3 separate regions of the Homo sapiens genome follow, and all the other regions are linked to region 2. The links are contacts of gene promoters, found by promoter capture Hi-C in blood cells and fetal thymus (Javierre and others, 2016). All regions are on one chromosome and are shown on one strand. The core of a region is centred on a gene start or on the middle of the fragment in contact, and the rest is flanking DNA. Distances in the headings are between cores, read along the strand shown.

The links. Contacts are between HindIII fragments. The CHiCAGO score rates a contact against its expected background, and 5 or more counts as called.
Region 1: a contact is called between a fragment that was not itself captured here and the fragment with the promoter of DIAPH3-AS2 in region 2, in 1 of 17 cell types (M0 macrophages). The highest score is 5.6, in M0 macrophages.
Region 3: a contact is called between a fragment that was not itself captured here and the fragment with the promoter of DIAPH3-AS2 in region 2, in 1 of 17 cell types (activated CD4 T cells). The highest score is 5.1, in activated CD4 T cells.

Annotation. Positions count from the first base shown.
Region 1 is chr13:59,880,199-59,883,143 of GRCh38, forward strand. The region is part of intron 20 of DIAPH3 (diaphanous related formin 3); the gene reads right to left. Among named protein-coding and RNA genes, the nearest start is that of DIAPH3-AS1, 130 kb to the right of the region's middle. The HindIII fragment of the contact is 220 bases long and covers 1,376-1,595 here.
Region 2 is chr13:60,143,150-60,146,247 of GRCh38, forward strand. It overlaps DIAPH3-AS2 (DIAPH3 antisense RNA 2), which reads left to right and starts at 1,549. Exons shown (of 3, transcript NR_046540.1): 1 at 1,549-1,714. All of the region lies in intron 1 of DIAPH3 (diaphanous related formin 3), which reads right to left. The HindIII fragment of the contact is 1,601 bases long and covers 1,045-2,645 here.
Region 3 is chr13:60,415,228-60,418,353 of GRCh38, forward strand. All of the region lies in intron 1 of TDRD3 (tudor domain containing 3), which reads left to right. Among named protein-coding and RNA genes, the nearest start is that of TDRD3, 20 kb to the left of the region's middle. The HindIII fragment of the contact is 2,742 bases long and covers 473-3,126 here.

The sequences.
Region 1 (2,945 bases), core at 236-2,735, 260 kb before region 2:
CTGCCTTTATCCTTACTCCTGTGTTATATCAACACACATGCAGGAAATAATCACTTAGCTGTAGGCTGAAGACATACCACATATGAAGCTAGATATGAATTCCTTGACCAAACACACTAGGGATTTGGGACTTAAAACGCACTGAAGGGGCGGTAATAGTAAAATTGTTGAACTTCAACAACTATTGTAAATATCAAAAGCAGGTTAAGGCAAGGTCAGAAAAAAAGCAGTGACAGATTAAAATAGGGACTGTTTCTCCCTTAGTCACAGACTGTAAAGGAAAGGCTAAAAAACAATGCTATATGAAGCCTGTAGGATGCCAAATATAATGAAAATCATGATTGTTTGGGATACAGAAAGCTATCAGCTCATAATATAATAATGACCGTTACTTAAAATATACTAGACAAAGGCTTATAAGACTCCAATATATTATAGACACTGCCTTAATGACTAAACATAACTCAGCTTACTCATCTGACAAAAATTGAGCAATAAAGAATTAGTTCTTTGTACACAACTCTGAGAGAATATTTTCATATAGACCAAAGCCCTATAGTGAATGAAAAGTTCCATTTTCAAATAATATAAATATCTAATTTATACTTAGCTTTCTCCCCAGACCCTTGCCAAATTAAATGGTTATTCATATACAATCAAGATTCTAAGGGCTCAATTAATGTAGTTATTAATAAGAAGTCTACTTTACAAGGCACTTTAAGGAACGTCTTCATATTCCACTGTCTAGGAAAAACAAAGAATGTAAGTTCAACAAGGACCAAAAAAAAAAAAAAAAAAAGAAGAAGAAGAAATATCATTAAGTTTATAGAGTAAGTTTAAGCGATATGAAATTATAAAGAGACAAAGATGTACTATTATAATGTTGATTCTTATTGGGCATGAATTGTTCTTTTTAAGCAGTGATCACTTATCACAAAGACATTTGTCTTAAAATATATTATATTTTAAGACAGATGGGTTCACTTACCTGGATTTTTTTTATCCTTAACCATTGCAAAAGGAAGATGTTCATATGACACTGGTAACATGAATAATGCTCTATTACACTTAATATGTCCTTTAGAGCAGTCAGACATACAAAAGAGCACTCACATGTAGTACCTGTAGTTATGGCCATTCTGAAGGTGTATAATGGGCTCATAGCATCGCTGTTTTCAGTAAGTGCCATTATTCATGATTATGAAGCCAGGTACTTGCAATACATATGAGAAGAAATTCTCCAGTATTCTATGCAAAACATTTGTATTACGAAATATATTAATTCTAACATATATTAATGTACTACTACATTCATGCACAGAAGAAAAAAGAGACTGCTTAAATGCCTACATTATACCACCCCAAAATATGTTAAAGCTTTCCTGCTGACAAGCTAACCATATGTAGCCAGCATAGAGTAATTAATTCTCCTAGAAAAATATAACCTAGATTTGTATGAATAATGAGTGTATCTGGCACTAGGGACAGGTACCTTGAAAAGATAGAGTAAGTCTATGATGTAATGCAGAACAAAGTGCTACAAGTTCATGAAAATCCCTGACAAGGCAAAGTCAGGAAATGTAACCTAAAAACAAAGCTTTGAACAACACTTAAAAAAAAAATTAGATGTCCTTTTCCTATTGTTCTTTCTTCCAAGTTTAGATAAATCAGTATTTGACTATTATTGAGTAAATGTGTTTTAATAAATAAAATTATTGAGTGGGAAAAGAACTTGAAAGGTCACCTGGAGAAGGTGCCTGTCTTTAGTTCACTATTTAGTCATATGATGACCCCTAGGCCAAATGGTTGCCCTTTTTATTTAACAACAAAATATCATTTAAGGTTAATGTTCCAAGATCTAAATCATGGAATCTATGATAATAACAGAAGGGTTACTTTTCTTTTTTTGAGGCAGAGTCTCACTCTGTCACCCAGGCTGGAGTGCAGTGGCACAATCTCAGCTCACTGCAACCTCTACCTCCTGGGTTCAAGCAATTCTCCTGCCTCGGCCTCTTGAGTGGCTGGGATTACAGCCATGAGCCACCACGCCCGGCTAATTTTTTGTATTTTTAGTAGAGACAGTGTTTCACCATGTTGTTCAGGCTGGTCTCTAACTTCTGACCTCAAGTGATCCACCCACTTGGGCTTCCCAAAGTGCTGGGATTACAAGCATGAGCCACTGCGCCCAGCCCTTTTCCTCATTATTTGAATCAAACTTTATTTCTTCAGGTGGAATCAAATAAAAAGGGTTAAGAAGGGGGAAAATATATGTATATGTAAAAAGCCCGACCAATGTTTCCGCATCCTCACCACTTCTCATATTCTATCAACACTGGGGATTTGCATTCTGTTTTCCTGCTAAGAAAACTAAACTTCTGACTTGTCTAAGACTAAGTGGAAGGCAGAAATGAACTATGGTGCTCAAATAATACTCTGAATGGCAACAGAAAGTCATTTTTAAAAATGAGAAAAAGGAAAGGGTAAATGAACAATAAACATAAAATGTAAGCTAGTTAATAATTAGAATGCTAGAAGAAATTAGAATTTCATTTTTACAGTTATCCTTTAAATCTATTGTTACAAAGTCTTGGCAATATAAATTCACGAAACCCAAATCTGACAATAATGAGATGTAATCTGAAGATCAATCCAAAAAAGGAAAAATACATTGATTTCACTCCTGTTTTTCCTGAAGGCAGGGAGCAGTACTCCTGTAACCCCCCCACACACAGATGTCATATGTCAGAATGAAGAGATGTTAAAAGCAGTGACTGGTAAAAATCAAGAAGCAATATCCAGAACCCTAAGGGTAATTTTATTTCAAAATTTTGTTTGTTGGCAATATATGTTGTTAGAGAGGGAACAACGTAAAAAGACCTTTAGAAAAATCAATGAACTAACAAGTATTGACTGGGCCCCATTCAGTGCTGTGAGGGGCACAGGAG
Region 2 (3,098 bases), core at 299-2,798:
ACCGCAGTCCTCTCCCTCTCAATACCTGGCTCACCTTTCAAATGCTGCCTGATTCAGGAAGGTTCTCTAAGCTTGCCCACATCAAGCGTGCCTTCCTAGCACTTTTACATCCTGCCTTGCACTGTGGCACAATAGAGCAGTACTGAGCAGAGGTGAACAGCCTCGGCTCTGGGATAAGACTCACCTGGATCAGAATCCAGCTCTGATACCAATCATCTGTGTGATCTTGAGCACTTAAACTCTCTGAGCCTGAATTTCTTAACTGTACTATGAGGCAAACAAGCATCTTCCCCATAGGCTTGGTAGAAGACTTATAGAAAAGACCATGGTACACAAAATACTACACCTGAGGTTCAGAAACTTTGACCAATGTTATTCTGCTTCCTTCACAGTAAGATCCATATAGGCATCACCTGGGTTCAGCTCACTCATTCTCAAGGATACTCCCAATAGTCTTCTCCTCCTCTAGGGCCCCATAACCAGTCTGTAATCCATCTAAATCCATTTTAAATGTGTACTGCCTCTCCTGTGGGCTTGATTTTTGTCATGGTCAATTTACCAGCAGCTCTGTTTTGCTGGGTGTCAGTTATGTTGGGCTGCCCTCTGGGGCCTTTCACATGCTGTCATATTTCTTTGGGGCTCAAATATGGGGGTTGAAAAATCTATGCAGTGGCAGTTTCCTAATGCCATCCCCAGAGCCAGCATGTTGCCAGGGCCTCAGGAGACTCACAGTCAGATGGACGAATCAGATGTGAGGTAAACAGATTAAGTAGGTACTGCAGATAAAAATTTAGAGTAAGGGTGGATCAACCTTCATTATTATGGAGAAATGATCTCATTTCCTTCTTCCCACAGCCCTTTTGTTTACAATTCCCTTGGGTCACCGATAATGGTTTGTCTTGCAGTTTGTGTTTATACCTCCTTTTCTGTTTGTATGTCGCAGGTACTATGTTCCCCTCAACTTTGAATCCCCAGCCCTACCATGGTGCAGGGAACATTTTAGGCAGTGGTTATCAACCTGACTACATATGAGAATCACCTGAAAGCTTGTTTTCTTTTCCCAATACGGATGCCTATGTAATATCCCAGCCCAAATGAATCAATACCCAAAGATGGAGCCTGCCATGGATAATTTTAAAGGTCCCCAGGTAACTCTAATGTGCAACCTGGAAACAAAACTACTAAAACTAGGCAAACTATTTTAGACTCAGTCTTTCAGCACCAAGACTGTCATCAAGAAATCTCCAAAGATCCCCACATGTAAACAAGGTAGACACCTGTGGGTGTATCTGCCTCCTGCACACTGTCTCTTCTCTGAGAATGCCTATGCCATAGAGGTAGGCCCACCAGTCTTCACTGTTCCTTGTAAGCCAGCCCTAGCCGCAGCTAAACACAAGGCAGAATATAAACCCAAGCAGAGCCAATCAAATCTCCATTTTCCCAGAATTCTAGAATTGGAATTCAGATATGAAAATCAGGCTCTACTCTTGCACGGACCAAGGACATGTATGTCTATCTGGAATTATGAGGTTCTAGGCTTGGCTGTGTGAAGATCAAAGCAGAGGAAGCCACACAATGCAGAGAATCAACAGTGGAGCTATGCCTAGTGAGAAGCAAAGAGACACTGGATGGCCTGAGAGGGAAAGAGACTGAGAAAAGCTGTCAGCTTTTAGTTCCTGGTTCCAGTCCTTTGTGACGGCCAGCTTGATTAGAGGTGCTACTCTTGTGTATCTTTACAATTCCTCCTTTCAGGATTACAGTAGATATTGTATAGGGATCTGTTCCTTTAGACCAAATGGGCCTTTAACTGAGACAGAACCCAAGATTGCTAAATGGGTCCCTAGGTACCCATATGATACAGCCCACCTTATCACTACTACTACACCTTACTGGACACTTTGCGATTACTAGTATACCCAGCAACCCTAAAAACTCGCTATTATCCCCATCTTAGAGAACAGGAAATTGAACAGCACAGAAGTGACTTATAAGGGTTGGTGAGTACCTAGGCTGGGAATGAGTCAAAAATCCAGCCTCACTCTCCTTCCTTTCCCTCAGTCCCCAGAACTATGATGGGACAGCCAGCTGCTGAAGCAGTTTCTGAATTATTTATGGAGCAAAGAATTCAAAAATGAAATCTTAACAAGAAAGATGAGCATAATTCCAATTGGATGATTACTAAATGATAACAACAACACTGACTACAAAACCACACCTTAAAACCAGGCGCAGTGGCTCACGCCTGTAATCCCAGCAGGGAGGCTGAGGCGGGTGGATCACAAGGTCAGGAGATCGAGACCATCCTGGCTAACACAGTGAAACCCCGTCTCTACTAAAAAAAATACAAAAAATTAGCTGGGCGTGGTGGCGGGCACCTGTAGTCCCAGCTACTTGGGAGGCTGAGGCAGGAGAATGACGTGAACTCAGAGGCGGAGCTTGCAGTGAGCTGAGATCGTGCCACTGCACTCCAGCCTGGGTGACAGAGCGAGACTCCGTCTCAAAAAACAAAACCTCAAAGATAAATGGGCATGGAGGGGGGTTGCAATTTCTGTCAATTGACTAACACTAATAAGAATACATGGTTTGCTAGGGTGTTTCCTCCTTTTTTTTTTTAAGTTGCTCTCAAATGTGTAATAGAAATGAAAAGCTTTTTTATTTCTCATTTATAGATTTTTAAAGCTGGGGTATATACCACAAACCTTATAAACCATACACTCCCAATTCAGACTGAAACATAAGCCAAAATTATCCACATTCCAACATGTCACTAAAAAATGCTTGTCAGGAATTATAATACAACAGCTAAAGAAAATTTAATTTCTTAAATTATTGATAAAGTTTGAACTTATTCTAAATAACTGAATTACCATTAAGTTTTCTTGTATAATTTAATACTACTTATTACACCCTCTAAGTTGTTTTATCTCTTAAAAGGAATCAAAAAGATGATTACATATTTATAAAATGAGCATCTGAAAAATGAAGAGCACAATTCCAGTTTTTACATGCAGTTCCAGTACTACGCATAAGATGTAGGTTACCTTTTACATTTCTTTCAGAAATATTAACCAAACAGGATATAGTTACTGCACATCTAA
Region 3 (3,126 bases), core at 594-3,093, 270 kb after region 2:
ATTCATATTTTTCCTTTTTAGATTTGTGTTCTGAAACTTTGAGAATTACCAATTCCACTCTGTGGACATTCATATCAACCGGGATCCAGTGCACAATTTTCATTTTTGATGTTATTCTGATTATATTATTATTTTATTATCAGATTATATTATTCTGATTACATTACTATTTCATCAGAATCTTTACGCTTCAGCCAACCACTTGGGTGTATCAGGACTATAATTAACATATTGGTAATAAGCAAACATACTCATTTAACAAATGTAAGCAATAATAGGCAAATGCCATTATTGGGAAAACTAGGCCCTCAATGTTAGCTAACTAAACAGACCAATGCAATCTTTATAACTCATTCACACACTTAAAGAATATGAGAATTTTGAAGAGTACATTAATTTTTCTGTAAAACATGATTAATATCAAATTGTAAGATGTATGCAAATAAAATTGCTTTCTTTTCTCAAATGGGCAAGCTTTGTACAGATGCCTTGATGGATCTTCCGGGAACTACCATGTCCAGAGATTTATTGAGTTTTAAATAAGAGCCATGAAAAGATCAGATTTGCCAAGTTTACAAAGATAGTTCTGGCCTTTATTTCAAGGATAGGTGAAGAGATCAAGGCTCAAGCAAAGACAATTTACGGAAAAACATTCTTTAGAGACAAACTTCATCAATATATCTTTTTCTTAAGGAAAAGTGAAGAAAGGGAGAACTCTGGTTGGCCGTCAGTGTCCTTGACTTGTCTCCTTCCCCTATTTAAAAATAGAATCAGTTAATAATGTTTATTAGTGTTAATGTTGGACATTTTAAAATACCCTTTGCTTAAGAATTAATAACTTTGTTGGATGGCTCAAAAATTGTGTTTTGGAAGTTGATAAGGTATTGATTTTAGATTTAACATGGTACAATATCAAATCATGGCAAAAATGATCCACTTTATGATTTCACTGACTCTTTTCAATAATTAAGGTTTCTCTAAGTGTAAAGTGTAAAGATTTTTAGAGGAAGATGTGGAAGTACTCATAATATAGTTCTTAGTCTAAATTTCTAATGAGATTTTTTTTTTAACTAAGGAAGTTTTAAGAACAGATTTACAAAACAGTGATTATTGAAAGATGGTGATACTTGCTCTTACCTTTCCCATGATCAGTTGAGCTGATATGGTCAACTACTAATTCCATTCTTAGTGCTATTTCCAAAGCAGTATGTGAATGAAGCTGTATTTAAAACATTCATTTACCAAGTAGATATTTATTAAGCAAGACTTTTTTCTCCAAAATCTGAGTTTCCTTTTTTAAGAAAATATTTTACGAATGCCTTTTCTTGTTGTTGTAATGTTTAGCACATGTATGACTGTGTTCATGTGCACATTTGTTTGCATTAGTCTTACTTATAGCTACTGTTTCTTTGGGCTGTCTGCTACAGTCTGGCTTGTGCTTCTTCCACACTGCTGAAATGCTTTTGCTAAAGTACCAGTGACCTTCCAGTTGTGAGATATCTTTCAAATTTTTCCTTACTGGCTCTGTTACTTTGGACGGTTTATGTCTATCTTGGAATTCACTGTTAAGACATAGTGTCTTAAAATTCACTATTCCTTGTCTCCCCTAACACTGTTCTCCTCATCTTGTTCTTGTTCTCTTCATTCCTTTCTCATCATTCGTTGTCTTTTTATGATATTCTTATCATACCTTTCCCTGGCTTTTCTTAGTTTCCTTATTGGTACTAACAAAGTTCTATCTTTGGTCCACTTTCTTGTTCTTCTGACTTTAACTGATCAGTCTCTCTCTCTCTTTTTTTTTTTTTTTGAGTCCAGGTCTTATTCTGCTGCCCAGGCTGGAGTACAGTGGCATAATCATAGCTCACTGCAGCCTCAATCTCCTTGGGTCAAGTGATAAACCCACCTCAGCCTCCCAAGTAGCTAGGACTACAGGCACACACCACCCCACATGGCCAATTTTTTATTTTAGTAGAGATGGGCTCTTGCTATGTTGTCCAGGCTGGTCTGAAACTCCTGGCCTCAAAGGGCTTCTCCTGCCTCAGCCTCCCAAAGTGCTCGGATTACAGGTGTGAGCCATTGTACTTGACCCAGTCTCATTTGCTTTCATGATTTAAACTAATTTCATTTTTTTTTTTTTTTTTGAGATGGAGTCTCACTCTGTTGCCCAGGCTGGAGGCTATCCCAGCTCACTGCAACCTTTGCCTCCTGGATTCAAGTGATTCTCTTGCCTCAGCCTCCTGAGTAGCTGGGATTACAGGCTCCTGCCACCATGCCCAGCTAATTTTTGTATGTTTAGTAGAGATGGAGTTTCACCATGTTGGCCAGGCTAATCTTGAACTCCTGACTTCAGGTGATCCACCTGCCTCGGCCTCCCAAAGTGTTGGGATTACAGGTGTGAGCCGCCACACTGGCCGATTTAAACTAATTTCTATATACTGATGATTCCTAAATCTTTCTGGGCCTGAACTTCAAAATACAGCCTTATATATGAAATACTCTGCACAATTCGAACTAGGTATCCCAGGGGCACCTCGAACTCCTCATGCCTTTCACTGTACTTCTCTTCCCCTCCATCTCCCAAGTTCTTCTTCTCTTTACACTCTTGTTTTAGAGGTGGTACACTCATCTCACCATTCATGAGTCATTTTTTTCTTTTTCCTATTCACTCATATCTAAATTAAGAATCAGACCTGCCAATTTTACCTTCTAAATATTTTTCTACTTCAGGCCTTTATTCTTGAGAGTAGCCTCCTGATTGGTCTTCTTGCTTACTGTCTCAAATCTGTCTTTTCTATAGGTGTTAGAATGAGTTATCTATAAAGGTTGTCTAATCTTTAGATCTTTTGTCACCTACAGGATGAAGTCTGTCTTACAAAGGTATGCATAGCCTCTTGTTTCTTTGTGGCATCCATTTTTGCTCCTACCTCTCCAGCAGTTTATGCTCTAACAAGACCAACTTGCTTGTGGGTCTCTTATGTACATGGTATTTTATGTCCTGCCACTGTACCATTTCTGATCTTGTCCTTTCTGCTTGGATTTTTTTCTCCATTTAAGTTAGTTAATTATTGTCCATCATTTTAAAACATAACTGTCATCTGTTATAAGAAGTCTTCCCTGATAGAAAGT